2 separate regions of the Homo sapiens genome follow, and region 2 is linked to region 1. The links are contacts of gene promoters, found by promoter capture Hi-C in blood cells and fetal thymus (Javierre and others, 2016). All regions are on one chromosome and are shown on one strand. Each heading gives the region's core, a stretch centred on a gene start or on the middle of the fragment in contact. The rest is flanking DNA. Distances are from core to core; before and after follow the strand shown. Region 1 holds the start of ART4 (ADP-ribosyltransferase 4 (inactive) (Dombrock blood group)). Region 2 has its middle 12 kb from the start of LINC01489.

Evidence for each region. Contacts are between HindIII fragments. The CHiCAGO score rates a contact against its expected background, and 5 or more counts as called.
Region 2: a contact is called between a fragment that was not itself captured here and the fragment with the promoter of ART4 in region 1, in 4 of 17 cell types (naive CD8 T cells, activated CD4 T cells, naive CD4 T cells and 1 more). The highest score is 6.7, in naive CD8 T cells.

What each region holds. Positions count from the first base shown.
Region 1 is chr12:14,841,796-14,846,290 of GRCh38, reverse strand. ART4 (ADP-ribosyltransferase 4 (inactive) (Dombrock blood group)) reads left to right here and starts at 2,765. Exons shown (of 3, transcript NM_021071.4): 1 at 2,765-3,321. The coding sequence starts at 3,178. The HindIII fragment of the contact is 16,901 bases long and covers 1-4,495 here.
Region 2 is chr12:15,011,155-15,015,935 of GRCh38, reverse strand. No RefSeq gene overlaps it. Among named protein-coding and RNA genes, the nearest start is that of LINC01489, 12 kb to the right of the region's middle. The HindIII fragment of the contact is 8,800 bases long and covers 1-4,781 here.

The DNA.
Region 1 (4,495 bases), core at 1,516-4,015:
TAGTCTAGAATATCTAGAATTTATTCCAGAAAATAGATCTGGAAAATTAGCGAAACCTCTTCTTAAACAGCTGCTTAAAAAAAAAAATAAAGTTAACTTTCACTGTGTTGGACACCCTATGAGTTGTTGGTCTTTCATTTCATTGTCAACAGAACCCTGCAAGACTGGTGTTACCATGTCTACTTTTACATATGAAGAAAATGCAACTGAGAATTAGTGTAATTTGTTCCAACTCACAAAGGTAGGAAGTGATGGAAGTAAAATTCCAACACAAGGTCTGTGCTACTTCAAAACTTATATCCCAACCCATCAAGACAGCACAAATAGGCTGCATTTTGAAGAACTGGGTATCATTAAATGATAACTGAATGCACCCCAAACTCTAAATTAACTAATATTAAATTATTACATGAGAATCTTAATAAGATAGCCCTTAAGGCAAAAGATGACTTTTTATTGACTCCAAACAATCAGAAAACTTAACTTTTCATTTTAATTCAAATATGTTCACATATACACCAGAACTTGAGCTTTTCCCTACCCCAGTTGTTTTCACTGATGGTTCTCTCTCTCTGTCTCTCTCTTTCTCTCTCTCTCCCCACCTTCTCTCTCTCTCCCTACCTTCTCTCTCTCCCCTCCCCTCCCCACTCTCTCGCTCCCCTTCTCTTTTGCTCTCCCCCTCACTCTCTCTCCCTCTCTCCCTCTATCTTTCTCCCTCTCTCTCTCTCTTTCTATCCCCCTTCCTGCTCCCTGCCCCATTCCCTTTTCTGTTCTCCCTCTTTTAGACTGAGTGGTATAAAATGTTACAAAGTTTTCTGCTGCCCTCCAGTGGTCTTATCCTGGAAGTGGCAGTCACGATAGGAAAAATAGCAAAACCTTTATAGAAGATAATAATAAAATGACACACTCTTTTAGAGTGTTTTAAGATCGTGGGCTTCAGGAGACAGAAAAGCACCTGTGATTACTAAAAAGTTATTAAACTTCACAGGGCCTCAACAACCACATTTATAAAGGAAAGGTTAAAATATCTCTTCATGGTCGTCCCATGGGTTGAGATAACATGCAAAAAGGTCTTGAAGTACAGTACTTGCTCAATAAAAGAAAAGTTTCACCTTATTTAAGCCTGACAACTTTCTATAAGGTTAAGGAAACTGAGGCTAAGCACAAATTACTTATTTTTTAAAGTTACCTCAGCCAGCATTGTGGGTAGAACTCAAACTATAATTCAAATTTTCATATTCTAAGTCTAGTTCTCTTCATGACATCTCAATATTCCAAAGTAACAGTTGCTAATAAGGAACCTTAAGAATTGTTAAAGTCTTAAAGGGATATTTTCACACACTGCTAGTGGTTGCCATTAAATCTGAAAAATATGCATTCCATGGATCAGTAGTCACATCTCTAGAACTGCATCTTAAAAATTGTGAGAAACACACAAAAATTTATGTAGTTGAAAACAAGCTAAATATAAGATATTTATTAAATAAACTTTGGTGCAAATAATAATAATTGGTTTTATTTGTTGGAAAATTTCTAGGTGCCAGATGCTATTCTAAGGAGTATGAATGTATCAACACTAAAATGAAGTTGGTACTATTATTATCTCCATTCAACACATGAGGAAACAGAGAGACAGAGAGGTTAAGTAGCTTGTCCAAGATCACACATTTAGGAAGAAGGAGCACCAGGAATTGAACTGAGATGTCTTATTCAAGAGTCCATGTTCTAGTCACTTATCAATCTTCTTCTGAGACTGTCCATGGATCCACCCATGCTGTCCCATTGTGTGGCAGCACCTATGTAATGGAATATAGTGAACCTTTGTTTAAAAAATGTTTCAATAGGTATTAAATTATATAGGGACATGCTTACATTAAAATATTAAGGGGAATAAACAGTATGCAAAACTGCATACTATATTATTTCAGTTCTAGAAACCTGTGTGTGTGTATGTCTAAGGGTGTATAAATCAAAATCCAGACCTAATTAGTGGCTGTCTCCAAGTGACGGGTTATGTGTCATTTTTTTCTCCTTTGTGCTTTCTAAATATTCTGAATATTTGTTAATGAGACAGAACTGCTGTGATCATCAGAAAATTTAGATTAAAAAAATTCAGGGTGCCAAAAAATTCTAGAATACTTAAGAACAGCACTTAGTTTACCTTAAAAGTTAAAAATTGAATCCAGAAGTAAATATTTGCAAGAAAAACAATTATCAAGGATTGCTAACTTTTAGTTTCTTAAATAATGAATCCAGAAGTATAAATACAAAATATTTGCAAGAAAATATAATTATATCAAGGGTTGGGAGGAGAAGAAGGATGTTTAGACTAGAAAGGGTAGTACCTACCTAAAAGAGAGTGCTTAATAGAACTGTGCTGGATTAAGTTTGCACAGTGGACCCTATTTTAACTTATGTCAGCTCTACATAAGCAGTCTCCTGACAGTCGTCATTAGGATTCACTGGAGACTGGAACTGTGCGGACAGAGGGCCTGTCTTCAGAAGAGAAAATGGGGGAAGAGCTTTGAACCCAGAGGTACAATCTCTGGATTGGAGAGTTTCAAAGGTGCCAGGGAAAAGCAGTACAAAGAGCCTTCTTTTTGACAATAACTCTAAAACACACTTTGCTCTGTGAACGCCCGTCCTGGGCAGGGCCTATCAGCAGGGCCAGATGAGCCTATAGACACCCAGGGTGGCGCGTTCCCAGCCGCCCTGCGCATGCCAATCTTATCAGTTTTGATGGAAGCCTGGGGCTCCAGATAATGCTACTTGGCCCCAAACGCTGGACAGAGCATGCTTTTTCCTGTTTGGCTGGGAAAGGGAAGGCTGAACTGCTGAGTCTGACACTTAACAGGACTTCGGCATTCCCCTGAATACAGACTAGATCAGAGATTTTATTTTTTTAATTGAAAAGTAACTTGGGTTCTCTTTAGAAACCCTTATTTGGTGTGCGCATCTGGCTATTTCACAGAGATTTCAGTTTTGCAAAGAAGTCGGAGTTGATTTCTTCCCTCAGACAAGCTATTGGTTGTTGGTGGGCAACAGAAGTTGCTCAGCATAGACAGGGGAAAAAACGGTTACGGATGAGACTGAAAGAAAACCTCAAAGGAGAACTCTGAGAATTCATCTCAGGATGAAGCTGCAAGGGCAAAGGAGAAGTACTTGTGACACAAGCAAATGGGTCCATTGATCAACAGATGCAAGAAGATTCTTCTCCCAACTACTGTACCTCCTGCAACGATGAGAATCTGGCTCCTTGGAGGCCTGCTGCCATTCCTGCTGCTCCTCTCTGGCCTGCAGAGACCCACAGAGGGTTCTGAGGTAGGGGGACAATTGAGGGGGTGATCTCTTTATGATCAGTGCTCCAACAGAGCATTCACCCGGCCACAGCCTTTAAATGGCCGAAAACTTAGGCATTCAGAATCTAGTTTCATTCAGACATTTTAACAAATCATGTTAGTAAAGAGTGTTGAAAACAGTTATGAAAAATTGTAGAATCCTTCACTGTTAGTACACTTGACATTATGGATGCTAGTGGCATAAAGTTATTTTCCTGATCCACTGTAAAAATTAAGTAAAATATTGCTTCCATAGTACAAACAATGCAAAATAAACCAAGTCTATTTGGCTTTAAACTCTAGCATACAGATTGACTTAAGTTTTAAGTGAATATTTTAATAAAGATCTGTGTAACAAAAAACAACCTAATGTTAAGAGATGACAGAGTACATATTTGAGATCTAGTAACATATTAACAAAGTTTCAGAGTTCATCATGACAGTTGACAGAACATTGTATTATTGGTTTGGTTTGGCTCGGCTTGGCTTAAATAGATACCGTAGACCTATTTTAATACCTGATGTGAAGAGTTATTGGTTAAAATCATTTAATCAGTCTTAAAAATGTGTTCTAGTTCACAAACAACTAGCTGACGTCTCATCATAAATAACATAGTAAAAATACCAAATGGGATGTTCTTTAAGTTCCAGTTCCAACATCCTTAACATTGACTGGATGGAATGTGATCCTTTAACATGTCCCTCAATGAGTACTGTTTATTACGAAAACATCATTTCTTTGCCAAGAAAGGAATGTTTTAGAATTTATATAATTTATATATGGCTCTAAATGATAGTCTGATGATATTTTGTGGACTTCTATTCAAATCTGTCATTTCAGTTTAGCATGCACTAGACGTGAATAAACAACATTCTGTTGGCTACCCATTAGAAAGGAATGTCCTTTTCCAGGAGGGGAGGGACTTTCCTAGGCACATTCCTGACCACTGTCCAACCCTTGACTCACTCTGCTGTCCCTGAGGGGGACAAATGTACTTGACTGGTAACATGGGAAAAAACAACTGGGTGTGCTGAGTTTGGCTCTGCTCTTCATCCTCCTGGGAGTTAGCCTGATGGCAAAGGGCATCAGTTCTCTGTTTCCCCATGACAAGAATCTTACCTGGGCAGGCCCCAGTTCAGTACTGCCTGCAAACGAG
Region 2 (4,781 bases), core at 369-2,868, 170 kb before region 1:
CATTTGACCCTTCACCCAGCCCCTGGCAACCACCATTCTACTTTATGTTTCTATGAGTTTGATACCTCATTTAAGTGGGTTTATACAGTGTTTGTCTTTTTGTGACTAGCTTATTTCATTTAGCATAATGTCCTCAAGATTCATCCATGTTGTAGCCTATAAAATGAACCTACCTGTTTTTAAAACATGGTTTCAGTGTTTTTCTCAAAAAGTTCTAATAATCCAACAACACATATAAATCATATAATTTCCAGGTAAGTAGGAGTTGTGAGGGCTTACCCATCTATTTTGCAAGTTTCCTTAACATGGCAGAAATCATTCTTCTCATTAGAAATTATTTTGTGGTAAGGAACCCACTAACTTTGAGAGTGGATAGCCCATTTTGCAATAAGACCCATCATCAGATGCTACCACAGCTCTACTCTCTGAACTGTTCTGGGGATGCATTGATTGAGATCCTAGCATTTGACAGAAACAAAGCAAATATATAACGTCTGTTTAGAGCCCTTATTTTCCTCAAAATCTTCTGATGTTCTCCAGGTCACCTTTGTCTTTCTGGCAACTAGCTATTTTATTCCTTGTATCATTTAACCATGGTTACTTATTAATCATCCCCCATGAGATGCCTGAAGTAACAATGTTTTGCAAATAGGTTCAGCTCTCTGGTTTTAGGGAATGAAGAGAGGGAGAACTGTAAAAGGGGAGTGTTAGACTTCATCCCCAAAGGCCAGGAACAATGTCAAAAAACTCTGGTATCTCTGCAGTTGATAGTTCCCTCTCACTTGACTAGATTTTAAAATAATTAAGTTCTCAATTTCCAACTTAGTACAATTGCAATCTCCAACAGCATTTCAGAAATAGGAAACCTGAAGCATATCTCTGCACACTTTTATTTGTAGTTTAGTAAACAGAAAGTCTGCAAATGAGAAAGAATAATGCCTAACTTCTTAAATAAGCAGAAGATGGGAATAATCCAGTCATTGTGCTTATACCTGCACTTCTCAGTTCTGCCGCAAGTATTCCAGTAAAAACTGGGTTGATCTGAGCTGAAGTGTTTCTTCCTTTTGGCCAGGTGCAAAAGTCTGGAGTCTACTTCAGAGGACGAATGTGTTTAGTCATTTTTATAAGAGTTGAAAAAAATAAGCACTAAATCTTTCTTTCAAACTTGAACTGATCCTCAAAACAGTTTTAGGAATTTCCAAAGGATCTTTTTGCTTTAGTTTCCAAACTGGTATTTTCACTTGTTTCCATCTTGTTTGCTAGATAACCTGAGTCTTAAATTTAAAAGAAAAATGCTTTGAGGATGATTTTATCAGCTCTCCATATGGAATATGAGAAAAAAAATCCATAATTATTCTGTATCCAGTTTACCTAAAATATTTTTCTAAGTTTTTGGTAGGCAGGTATTCTCCTTTCCACCGTAGAACTCAAGCAGTACAGACTATACCATGGCCTATTGCTAAGATTTACTGAGATCTCCACTTTTGGAAACCCCACAAGTGTAAATTGAGATTAATAAAAATTCCTTGGTATGAAAAATGCTAACAGTTGAATTTCACTCTCCCATCTACTCAGATATTACTTTATACTCCTGGATACCCCTCATAACTGCTCCTGATGCCCAGGCATCCAGGGTTAGGTGAGGAAGCATGACCTGGGTTTTCAACAAACTGCATGAGGCCACTCTGGCCACGAGCAGACTCTCTATCCTCAGGCCCCCAGTAATTTTGAGTTACTTCCTCTCAGCCATCTGACTTATATGTGAGGCACAACTGCACAAAAATAGCAATTCTTGACGCTTTTATAAACACATCTACAGAGAATGTTCCCATTATTGCCTTAATATAGCAATCTGAGATAATCAGGTCTGGAAACATAGCCACGTTTTATAGGTAAGGAAACCAAGCATAAGTGATCTAAAAACTAACAGGAGAGTGAAATTGAAACCAGAACCTTGGTTTTCTGACTGCCCGTTATGGATTCCCCCTCTGGTTTTCTAGGAAAGCCCTATAGTGAAGGCCATATTGCTCTCAATATTTCTTCTTCTTTTCAGTTGCCTTTCTTTATGCCCCTCATCCCTGTCTGTCTTTTCCTCATCCAATCTCCTTGTGACTCTCTGAAAGTCCCTGCCCTGTGACAGTCAGTTCAGACCTACCCTTTCTAGCCATTTTCTGATGCTCTCTGAGCTGCAGATTTTCCTGAGCTTCAGACACCTCTCGTTCTCTCAATGCCTTGCTAGACTGCTGCAAGTTCAATTTATAAGGAGCTGATGGGAGATAATAGTTTACTGCAGTGGTTCTCAATCAGGGCAGTTTTTCTCCCTGGGGGACATTTGGCAGTGTCTGGAGACATTTTATGCTACTGGCACATATTGGGTGGAAGCCAGAGATGCTGGCTGCCATCCTGCAATGCACAGGACAGCCCCCCAAATACTAAGTAGAAATACTTCGTGCCTAATGTCGATAGTGCCTCCAATGTCAAGGTTGAGAAACCTTGGCTTAGAACAATAATCCATCCTACAATGTTTATTACCAGCATTTCCCGAAAGGAGTAACCAATGCCAAGACTTTCTATCATCATGGTGGTTGAAGAAGATAGTAGGTTTCAAACTGGCATGTACGAAAGTGTGGGGTGGGCCCATTAGTCAGGTCACAGAGACAATAGCCTACTTTGAGTGTGTTAACTGATCATTCTTGACACAGTAAAGTCACGTAAACTGCTTTGTGGCAATATAACTAAGACTTGCTGTGAGAGGAAGGCAGAAAAGAGAACGTGAGCACAGAGTTCTTCTCAGAATCACTGAAGGTTTGGTATGAGTATGCCCCACAATGGGACTCCTGCTTCGAGACGTGAGCTCGGAGCAAATGTGTCCCAAGCAATAACATAAGATCATTATGTGTGGAAAACAGACTTAAGAATAAAATACACTAAATATTTTTGATGTAGTATCCCATGGTGGGTAACACATGTCAGAGATGTGAGTGCAAATGTGAGACGCCTGATCTGCTCTATCTAGTTCAATTGGAGTCGTGGACCTTCTAATTCCATTCCTTCTGTCAAAAACATTTTTACATTCATTCTGGGATGTGTGTCATGTAAATTTTTAACCAGTAGAGCAAATTTTCATTTTATCTCAAGGACAAAGAACAATTTGCTCTCAGCTACAAACTTCCTTCCTTCCATCTGTAACATCATCAATTCTGTTCTTGGTTCCTCCTCTTCAATCATGTGGGACCCACTCAAAGAACAAAGAAGTCCTTTGACCCTTTGTCCTCCCAACCACTTCCATGTTCATGACATATATTTGTGATATTTTGAGTGAGTTATAATCACTTAATTCTAACATGTTTTTTGAAAGAACATTTTCCTTAGACTTCTTACTTTCCAACTCCAATTCTCTCAACCTAAAGAAATCCTTTCTGTCCCACTTAGCTGAATCCAAGCACCCCTCTTCATTTACTTTCTGGTCCCTTGTTTTTCACTGGACACTTTTCTACACTCCACTTGGGCACTTTCCAGCTGCTGAGGCACTATATTTTTATCTTTTCTCTCTTACTGCTTTTTTATGTTAACAAGAACATTACGTGTACTTACATCACTTCTTTTCCTTCCTTTTAGTACTGCAGGACCAGAACTATATGAAGTTCTGAGGACATAATAGCAGTTACAATCTTGTTCATCTACTGAGATAAATGGGCCTGAGCTCTCCTAGCATTTCTTCTTTCCATAATCAATTGTGATTTTTTCCATAATCAATTGTGGTAAAGCTCTCTCTTTCTGTCTCTCTGTCTCTCTGTCTCTCGCTCTCTCTCTCTCTCTCTCTCTGTGTGTGTGTGTGTGTGTGTGTGTGTGTGTGTGTGTCTGTGTGTGTCTGTGTTTATGACTATCAGAGGAAGAGAGACAGCTGGAAATTATTTTCAAGTATTTAAAGGTGATAGAAGTTCTTTTTCTTAGATAACATGCTATCCGGACCAGTAGTTATATATGAAACATATAACTAGTGTAGTATATAAAACATAAAACAATTTCCCCTTGGTCTTTCATTCAAAGTCCAAAACTTAAAGATCACGCTGAGAAAAGAGGGGTTCGGTGCTATATTAGCTGTAACTTAGTCTTGGGGTCTCTTCCAATGGTTGGCCTTGTTTTCCTTTGGCAAGGAAAAATTTATTGTTATGCTTGGAAAATATTTTGCTGTTAGCAGAAGAATAGTCGATATTTCAAAGAAAGATAAAGGGAGTAGAGAGAACTATGTGACAGGACATTTTTCTTGATTGTTTTCAAAATGGAAGGTTGAGGGAGGGGTATTCAAGAAAAATAAAGTACAATTTTGACCTCCACAAAGCAGAAGCTACATCTATTTTACCTTCCCACAGATCCCAGTAAAATATTCTAGACCTGGTGAGTGTGAAATAAGTATTGTGACCTGTTTTGTCCTGAAAGTCTAATTAACATAATCAAATAAGAACTTCATGTGAAAGTATGCAAGTTGCCTTTGTAATAAATTACTATTTAGAGATTAGATGAGTCTACCTAGTAGAAATGTACACAGTGGCTTTAAACCTTTCAGAGTACTGCCCCTAGTGAACATTTGTTAAAAAGACAGCATGGCCTGAGCACTCTAAAGCACAAGCCAATGTCAGGGCCAGAGCCTGTGGGCTAGGCTAGTGGTGATGGTGGTGTTCTTCATGTGTGGCCAAGAACAGGAGAGGCAAGAGATCTACCAAGGAGCCTATAACAGAAGACCAGAGACCTGAACTACAGAAACCAAAACTGGGTGTGGA